2 separate regions of the Homo sapiens genome follow, and region 1 is linked to region 2. Evidence: promoter capture Hi-C in 16 types of primary human blood cells and fetal thymus (Javierre and others, 2016). All regions are on one chromosome and are shown on one strand. The core of a region is centred on a gene start or on the middle of the fragment in contact, and the rest is flanking DNA. Distances in the headings are between cores, read along the strand shown. Region 1 has its middle 650 kb from the start of LINC02476. Region 2 holds the start of KCND2 (potassium voltage-gated channel subfamily D member 2).

Region 1 (4,778 bases), core at 1,626-4,125, 1.0 Mb before region 2:
TTATTTTGCCCATGATTTTTGTTTAAACACTGTATACAGAGTTCTTTCATTTAAGGATGTTTAAGCTCTATCATATTTGAGAAAGCCACTTAAGTTAAACTGATAAAAATGAAATTACTGTCTCAAAGGCACTGATGCAAGTTTAACTAGTATATTTCTGGTTTCTGATTGCCTTCAGTATAGGGTTTTAAGAAATGATAATAAGTGGATATTATTAAGACTGACTCACCTGGTTCAAATTTAACCCTAGTTCTGAGTTATGCTTTGAAAAAATTATTCATTTGTATGTTTTCTTACATAGTTGGAACATATATGACTTTCTGCTATATTCAGTCTTTAGATTTGTTAACTAGAAAGGAGACTAAATAAATTTCTTATAAAGAATCAGTTTTAACAAATTCTTCATTAAATAGATAAAGAATAAAAACTTTCCCTAAAATTTCAGAGATTAATTGTGAAGTAAGACTTTTACCCGGTGGCCCTTATAAAGACAAAGCTGATTCAATTCAGTGCTCTTGTCTGAACACAGAAGGATGCACTTCTATTGGTGATGATACCAAATTATTTGGTCTTCAGATATAGTCACATATTAAAATATTTTTAAACATAAAGATACATAAGTATTAAAGATAAGACTATAAAAGTAAAATTTTTGAAAATTAATTATATAAATGTATTTTTGAATAGACAAAGTCATCTTATTCTAACTTTTAAGTGACTAGAATCCAGATTCAAACTTCTTACTCAGAACTTAACTAATATTTCATCTAATCCTCCCATTTTGCAGATAGGAAGTGCACTGAGAAATATTAAATTAATAACCTCAGCTCACCTAAGCTCAGTTCACAAAATACAGTTTTACTTAGTTGAGTTTTAACTTTGGTTCACAGTCCTAAGTTTAATTCTGTGATAGTCTCTATTTGTCAGCCCTAACATGTGAAATATCTAGGTAGGGTATAGATTGTACAAGCAATTTTACAGAGTAATTTATGTGATGAGTCATGGGGTTACTGAAACAGTCAGGAATTATAAGACTGCTGCTACATAGAGAGAATCAATTAAAAACAAAAAGGAAGCAAAGCAATGTGAGATAAACAGAGTAGATGTGTATGACATTCTTAAAAGCATCTGTTTTAAGATGTCCTGCTGGTAGGAGAAAAATTAAATTAGATTCAAATATAATTGTGACATATTTTAGAATATGAAATGTCATTCTGTTTGTCAGGCAGGCTTGTGTTACTTGGATTCACAGCAATTATTATTTTTTTAATTCAAGAGTGATCTAACAAATAGTCTGTCTTACCCCTAATACCAATGCTGAAATTTTAAATACTAGGTAGAAAATATTAATCTTCATGAAGGTGTTTATATCCTTGGAATGGAAAATTTTTCTCTCCATGGACAAACTGTTGATTGTTTTTCTCTCCTATCTTTGGAGAAATGGGAGATTTAAATTTACTTTTATAACCATGTTTTTTCAAATGTATCTACTTTCTAAGGAAAAGATAATAGAAGAAACTGGGATTTTGGAAATAAATACAATAAAAGACCCATCAACTAAAGAGTGAATTATTAGTAATGTGCATTTGAAATGCTGCATCATGTTTATTTGAAAAGTAAATGATTCTGTCATATCAGCTCATCTGAAAAACTGACAAAAATATATCCAAAGTAAGCCTATGTAAATATATTTATAAAATTTATAATGGAAATGTATAAATATACTTATGATATTTATAATGGAAATATTTAATTCACATAATAATATAAATATGATTTAATTAAAATATTTCATAGTTGATAAAATATTTTAGGCTTTTAAATTTTACTTTGAACCAGTATAAATAGCTATCTTTTTAACATTTAAAAGGAAAATATCATTAGCTTAGCATTTTACAGGTTTCAAGCTCTACAAGGGGAGAAAAATGAAAACAAAAACAGCATAATTTTGTATTTGGAAGTGCAATGATTAGTACATAAATTATAATTATAAAATAATTAGGTTGTATTACATCATATTATTGAAAGAAGGCTTCTAAACCAGCCTGATTAATGATGGCTTCTTTTGTTTTAACAGTAACACATTTTCAAATCTATAGAAAATAAAATATTTAACATCTTACCATCTAATTAACATGCTCATCTTTAATATTTTGGAGACCTCTCACTTGTATTATAACAAACAGTGAAATCTAAGTGTCCAAAGTGAACCTTTTCATGTTGGTAGCTTTGCAACTGTTACATAACACTAATGCTGATGGCACTTTGCCATCTGACCATCAGTTTTACTTTGGGAACAATGTAGTGATGGTACTGTTGTCATGAGAGCCTTTCATTTAGTATTTTATAATTTTATGCTTATATTTTGTCCATACTAATGTATTTAAAATAATTTTAAAACTTTAATATTGTAAAAATTTGGAGGATTTGTGTGTGTGTATGAGTGCAAGAATTTGATATTATGTCAAAAATTGTACAGTCATCCCTGAAGTAGATGTCAATATTAAGAGCTGAGTAAATTATTTCATAATATAGACTTACTGATAAAAGACAAAGTATTTCTAATATATGAAAACATGATTATGAATGAAAAAGAGATAAACATAAAACATATGAAGCTTGCTTCTTACTAAGGTATAATAACACTTTTAAAAGAACAAAAAAGCTGGCAAGACACACAAAGACAGATTTTCTCATTTCCTTCCTTGGCTTTAGGGAGAAAATGTACTGTACAGTGGAACCCTGGCTTTGGCTGGACCCAAGACCGTATGTTAAATTAATTAATGTAAATTATATTGCTTTTTAAAAAAAGCATATATTCCATTTCCCATCATTTAAACCTCTGAACCCACATATATACAGAACATGGACAAAACTACACACTGTTTCCTGCTGCTAATAATAAGCAAATAAAAGATAATCCCTTAGTAGGTAAACTCATCCTTAAACAAATTTAACTCATATTAGGTGAGTAAACAGATGGAGCTGGCATAGTGCCTTAAAAGTCAGGAAATTCAGACTTGGTAGAGCTGATGAGGTGGAAAGGCAAGAGTATACCAGAGCTGAGGATTGTCCGGAGAAAAACTCTTCGTTTCTATCCTCACCTTCAGTAATGATCTTGGATTCTTAATGGAAAGCTTTGAACAAAATCCATATTTTATGATGATATATCATGAAAAGAAGAGCCAAATCATAGAATACAAAAGGGACTGTGTTGATTAAACACCTGCAGTACTTAGTATTTATCTTCCTTAACTTTACTAGGTTCTGCCTATAAAGCCAGCAAAATGGATTAAAAACAGATTTATGAAGTAGTTGATATTATTACTTTGTAATTTTAACTATAGTGTATCATAAATAAAATATTAGGTATTTTAAATTTATTTTGGATTTGAAGAAAGCACATATAAAGTTATTAGTGAGCAACCTATTTGGGATTGACTTTTGTTTTAAGATTTCATGTTCTCGGAAACAAAGTGTAAGTGTAAGGCGTTGTTGGTTCTGAGATTGTAAATACAAATAAGGCTCTTCCCTTTATTTGCTTTTATGTCTCTTTATTATTCATTCTCTTGAAACAATGATTAAAAGTGAAGTTGTTGGCAAGAAAAGCAGATGGTTTTTACAGCAAATAATTATATTTCCCCATAAAACACATAGAAAATGGGGATTTCTTGGACAACCTCATGTATTTGGTTTAAAATATTCCGTTGTCAAATCCATTTTACTCAACTAACAGAATAGGATTTGTGTTAACACTAAGATAACCCTCATTCCTTTTCTCATTCTTCATGTCCACAATTAGCAAATGCCTTTTTAATATGAGAAAATCAAAGAAGTAAGAAAAAGTACTTGAGATAAAAATGTTGGTATTGTTATGGGATCTTTGGGTGTTGCTTTTCTGGCCAGAAACCTCTGTGGCCGACGGTGCCTTTTCCCGAGTTCTTGTCCTCCACCCAGGAAGAATGAGGTACGCAGACAAGTGGAGGGAAAGGAAGATGAAGAGGAGCTTTGCTGAGTGTTAGAAAAGCTCAGAGGAGACCTGCAGGTGGGTAGCTCCTCTCTATAGGCAAGTCATCCCTTCAAGTGTTCAGCTCTCAGCAGAGAGGAGGCCCTGGAGAGGCAGGAAGCCCTGCCAGTTTTCCACGGGCCAGCCTGTAAAAGGCACCACAGTCCCTATTCCAGTCTGTGTTACTGGCAGCCTGGTCCCTAGCTTTCAGGCCCTCCCTGGACTGAAGGTGGGGCCTCACTGGAGACCCATCCCCTTTTTAATATGAGAAAATCAAAGAAGAAAAAATATGTGAGATAAAAATGTTAGTATGACTAATCTTCCTTAAGTTGATTATTTACATATGACTTTTATAAACCCATGAACAAAAGAGTTTACCTTGTGTTTAACAGAGAACGATCTTCTCCGTTATTAGTCATTAATCTGAATTTACTTTTTCTTTCAGAGTCTACTTTAGCATGCAGTTAAGAGTCACAATTATGATGCCAATATGTGTTTCTGGACTTCAGAAGAACTTAATACCACCTCAGTATATCTTGCCTTGTGGGTTATCAATAAATATTTCATATCATTTTGTTTCTTTAAGCCTTAGAAATATGTCATGTGAAGTATTAAGATAGTCATAATTCTCCAAACCTGAAGAATATATTATGTGAGAGAATTAAATAGCTTTTCCTGAATAATTTTTTCATGATAAAAGTCACTTAAAAAGCTCTGAGCAGATCTCATTTCCCAGAGCACTGCCAGCTCCTGTTCCTTTTCTACACAATTT
Region 2 (4,790 bases), core at 34-2,533:
ATTTCAAATTTTCAAGGTTGACACATCATGCCTGTAATCTCTAGGGCTTAAAAGTCAATTTCCGTAAAGTACAACACACAGTCCACTTATTTTACAAACCAAGGGCAGTCAAACCAAGCCATGAAAAGTAATTTTTAGGTAGAAATTAGGCTACTATTCTTCATCAATACAGATGAAGCCTCATTATTGCCAAAGATCTTAATTACTATGATGATGATGATTCAGTAATCTAGATTTAATTTTCAAAGGAATTTCAAAAGGAAACTCTCCACATCTCATCCCACAACTATCCAAATGCAGACTCAAGCCTAAGTAGTATATGTCACATAAACACAAAAAAGGTGGGTGGCAGCGAAGGGGTTTGGGGATGTTTATGTGATCTGACTCTCTGTTGGACCAGTTAATTTTGATCCTTCACCTTCCTAAAGCATCCAAACCTTAGGTGCAGATTTAACTTCTCGCCATCCACGCCATCTAGTGGCTTGTATGTGTTACGTTTGGTTTTAAGGATGATTCCTAATGACTCGGGGGCGGGGTACGCGAAAAACAAAAAGGTTGGTAGCGACAATTTTCCTGTGTCTCTCTACCTCAGTAACCCCTCATACGAACACCTTTAACTCTTTTAACTATTTTAAATATGCGCAGTGATGCGCAGAGAGGATGAAGGGGACGCAAACTTTCAGAGACGCACGCCCCTTGACGATGACATTTAGAAAAGGGCTCCACATCCCTGTTATTCGTAAAGGACGGGAAAAGGAGTTGTGTCAAGACCTCGATCGAGGAGAGTCTCTGATTTTTTGGCAAGTTGGACAGATGGCATATCAATCCCTGCAACGTTAACAATCTGGTTTTGAAAATAAATAAAAACAGAAAGAGGAAATGCACTTAAAAATTCCGCGTCGGAGCTTTGCGGGTCTTGCCTTCCAGTCGCCCCCAGAAGACAACCAATTCCTGCGCATTCCGCTCCGCTCACCCTCCTTCCCAGCTTCTCTCGCTCTCTTTCCCCCCATTTTCCCACGCTCGCCTTGAACCGGGACTCGAGAGGCAGAAGCAAGGCACGGGTCCCCTTTCTCCTCTCCTCCACCAAACCACCGCAGCCCAGCACGTGAAGCTTCCCTTTGTTCATCCGAGGCTCGCTTTTCTCCCCAGCAGATCCACCTGGATGCTCTCCCTCGGTGACATTTTGCGCCGGGGTTGGTGGGTGGCTGGGGTGGAGCGAGAGGAGCCCGAGGGGGCGGGGGCGGAGAAAGGTCAAGCCGAGGGAAAGGCAGGAGACGCCTTTCCTAACCTGCGTGGCGGGGCGTGCGCGCGGTTATTTATTTATTTTCTCCTTATTTATTGATCGCACTAGCAGAGCAGCGCGGGGAGCCCGGGGAGATGCAGGACCACCCACTGGCGGGGAAGCAGCTAGCAGCCCTCCCGCGCCCCCGCGCTGCCGAGCGCCTTCTGCCTCCGCGCTCGGACGAGAGCCCGTGCCGGCCCCGGCCCCGGCCCCACCGCGCCAACGCCGCCCGCCCGGCCGCCCCGCAGCCCCGCCGCCCCGCAGCCCCGCACCGCGCTGGCCAGGCTCCCGCGACAGTGGCCCCGCAGTAAGTTGGCAGGAGCGAGTCCCCTCCGTTCTCGCCTCCCCCGCACCTTTTGAACTTGTTGCTGCTGCTCTGCTCGCCTGCGCCTGGCTTTTGGAAGGTGAAAAGGAGGAGGGAGGCACGGAGGGATGGGGGAAGGGAAAGAAGAGCTCGCTTGAGCTTTATTTATGCTCTCTCGGCGCATCGGATTCGGCTGCTCGCGAGCTGCTTTCTCTCCTCTTCCCTTTCCGGGTGCACGGCGAGGAGAAAGTCTCTATGCAACTAAGCCCCGGCGCGCACTTGGCCAGGTATGTACCGCGGGAGCGGCGCGTTCTGCGCGGAAGCAGATGCTGCTGCCGCCACGGCGGCGGCGGCTGCCAGCTCCTGAGCTCTGTAACTGTCACACTGCACCTGAGCTGAACTTGAAAAGAGAGTGAAGGGGCGATTGGGCGAACGCTTTTGGCAGACACAGAGGGTGTTTGTAGACGTGGGGGAGGAGAATCTCTATTAACGCCCCCCACCGTAACCACTGCACATCACCTCCATCTCTGCAAATACAGCCCGAGGAGTAGAGGCAGCAGCAGCTGGACCCCCAAAGAGAGACGTGGGGCAGCGGCTGTGACCGCATCTCCTGAGCTACAACAACAGGTCGCCTTTTTGAGACTCCTTTGGCGGGAAGGGCTACTTGGAAAGGAAGGTTTGAAAGAGTGAGAAGGGTAGGTGTAAGGGTTCCCTAATTCGTCGAAAGAATTCTATTGGGTGACTCTCGTTCGTCTTCTCTATCCTACACTCCACATACTGACCCTATATTATCCAGACTGTGCCGGGGAGAAATCAAAAACACCTGTTTGAAGAAACGGCTGCACCTGTGTGCTTATTTGTGCCAGAGGGTGGCCTAGCCCACCTGCAGGAAGAGATTTGGCTGGGTTCTGTTGAGGGTGATTGTTAGGACGTTGTATTTTGTTGCCATTATTCCAAATACCTGTCTTGGAGGGAAAGTTGCCCTTCTGAGAACTGTGACTTTACCAGGAGCCCTATCTTGGAATAAGAGTTACACCTCTGGACCACGTTTCTCACTAGTACTTTGCTTGACTGGAGGAAGTGGGTGACTTTTGGCTGCTTCGGTGACCCATTGTAGACGCCTCGTTACCCTTCTTCCTTCCGCTTCAAGTAATCATGGCGGCGGGGGTGGCAGCGTGGCTGCCTTTTGCAAGGGCAGCGGCTATCGGGTGGATGCCTGTGGCCTCGGGGCCTATGCCGGCTCCCCCGAGGCAGGAGAGGAAAAGGACCCAAGATGCTCTCATTGTGCTGAATGTGAGTGGCACCCGCTTCCAGACGTGGCAGGACACCCTGGAACGTTACCCAGACACTCTACTGGGCAGTTCTGAGAGGGACTTTTTCTACCACCCAGAAACTCAGCAGTATTTCTTTGACCGTGACCCAGACATCTTCCGCCACATCCTGAATTTCTACCGCACTGGGAAGCTCCACTATCCTCGCCACGAGTGCATCTCTGCTTACGATGAAGAACTGGCCTTCTTTGGCCTCATCCCGGAAATCATCGGCGACTGCTGTTATGAGGAGTACAAGGATCGCAGGCGAGAGAACGCCGAGCGCCTGCAGGACGACGCGGATACCGACACCGCTGGGGAGAGCGCCTTGCCCACCATGACTGCAAGGCAGAGGGTCTGGAGGGCCTTCGAGAACCCCCACACCAGCACGATGGCCCTGGTGTTCTACTATGTCACGGGGTTTTTCATTGCCGTCTCTGTCATCGCGAATGTGGTGGAAACAGTGCCGTGCGGATCAAGCCCAGGTCACATTAAAGAACTGCCCTGTGGAGAGCGGTATGCTGTGGCCTTCTTCTGCTTGGACACGGCCTGCGTCATGATCTTCACAGTTGAGTATTTGCTTCGCCTGGCTGCAGCGCCTAGTCGTTACCGTTTTGTGCGTAGTGTCATGAGTATCATCGACGTGGTGGCCATCCTGCCTTATTACATTGGGCTGGTGATGACAGACAATGAGGACGTCAGCGGAGCCTTTGTCACACTCCGAGTCTTCCGGGTCTTCAGGATCTTTAAGTTTTCCCGCCACTCTCAAGGCCTGCGCATCCTGGGGTACACACTGAAGAGTTGTGCCTCAGAATTGGGCTTCTTGCTTTTCTCGCTCACCATGGCTATCATCATCTTCGCTACAGTTATGTTCTACGCAGAGAAGGGGTCTTCGGCTAGCAAGTTCACCAGCATCCCTGCAGCCTTCTGGTATACCATCGTCACCATGACAACACTAGGGTAGGTGCCATAATGGGAAATGGGATGGAGGTTGGGTATGGGTGAGGCGATTGTGGACCCATCGAGGTTACATGGTAACTCCGGGGAAATCATTTGTTTTCTTTCCTGAGTTTAGGAAAGCATTATCTAAATGGTTTGGCAAAACTCTTTTCATCTGTGAAATGGGTATAATACACACGTTGAAGTATTAAGGCATTGCTGGCAAATGTTGATGCCTGAAAGTGATAAAGATACAAAGAAATTTTAGAATTCCTGAATATATGAAAGTAGTAGCAATATTTATATTAATATATAAAAATATGACAATGAAAAACAAAATCTATGCCCTAATAAAGACACAAATATATACAATGTATATTGAAATGTCTATAAAGTGGTTCAATGCATTTAAATGAAAAGTTTCCAGGTATACTTGAACTATTATTTTCATATGAATAGATACTTATGGTGTACATTTTTCCTCTAAGAACCATAATTCCTATTTTACATCGTAATACATAGATTGTAGATGTAATTATCAAAGTATTTTATAATATATATGCACATATTCATATGTATGCACTTTAATTATGGTTGATAGGTTATTCAGTCTTTTAGAATATCAGAGCTGAAACTGATCAACTCTACAATATGCAGTGGAATTAAATTTGCAACATATTTCAAGCTCTAGGTTCATAGTTTCAAAAAAAGAAGCAAAAGACTGTCATCCACACATTTTTTTTTAGAATCTACAGATCCCATCAGGCAATGGGTCCACACCCATTAAATACACATAGAAGATAGAGCAGTATCTGGTAAGATTGATGGTCACCAAGGCTGGCTGTATTATAAAATTTGGGGTCCTAATTTCCTTTTAGAATTTTTTTGTGAATTCTTTTTTGGGGGTATAATGAAGTTCTGCAACCAAAGGGACAAATTTCTGAATTCATGCTGT

The links. Contacts are between HindIII fragments. The CHiCAGO score rates a contact against its expected background, and 5 or more counts as called.
Region 1: a fragment that was not itself captured here is called in contact with the fragment with the promoter of KCND2 in region 2 in 1 of 17 cell types (endothelial precursors); the score reaches 8.2 in endothelial precursors.

The regions. Positions count from the first base shown.
Region 1 is chr7:119,253,938-119,258,715 of GRCh38, forward strand. No RefSeq gene overlaps it. Among named protein-coding and RNA genes, the nearest start is that of LINC02476, 650 kb to the right of the region's middle. The HindIII fragment of the contact is 519 bases long and covers 2,617-3,135 here.
Region 2 is chr7:120,271,892-120,276,681 of GRCh38, forward strand. It overlaps KCND2 (potassium voltage-gated channel subfamily D member 2), which reads left to right and starts at 1,284. Exons shown (of 6, transcript NM_012281.3): 1 at 1,284-3,856. The coding sequence starts at 2,742. RefSeq lists silencers at 371-470, 1,390-1,539 and an enhancer at 1,980-2,049. The HindIII fragment of the contact is 3,977 bases long and covers 1,110-4,790 here.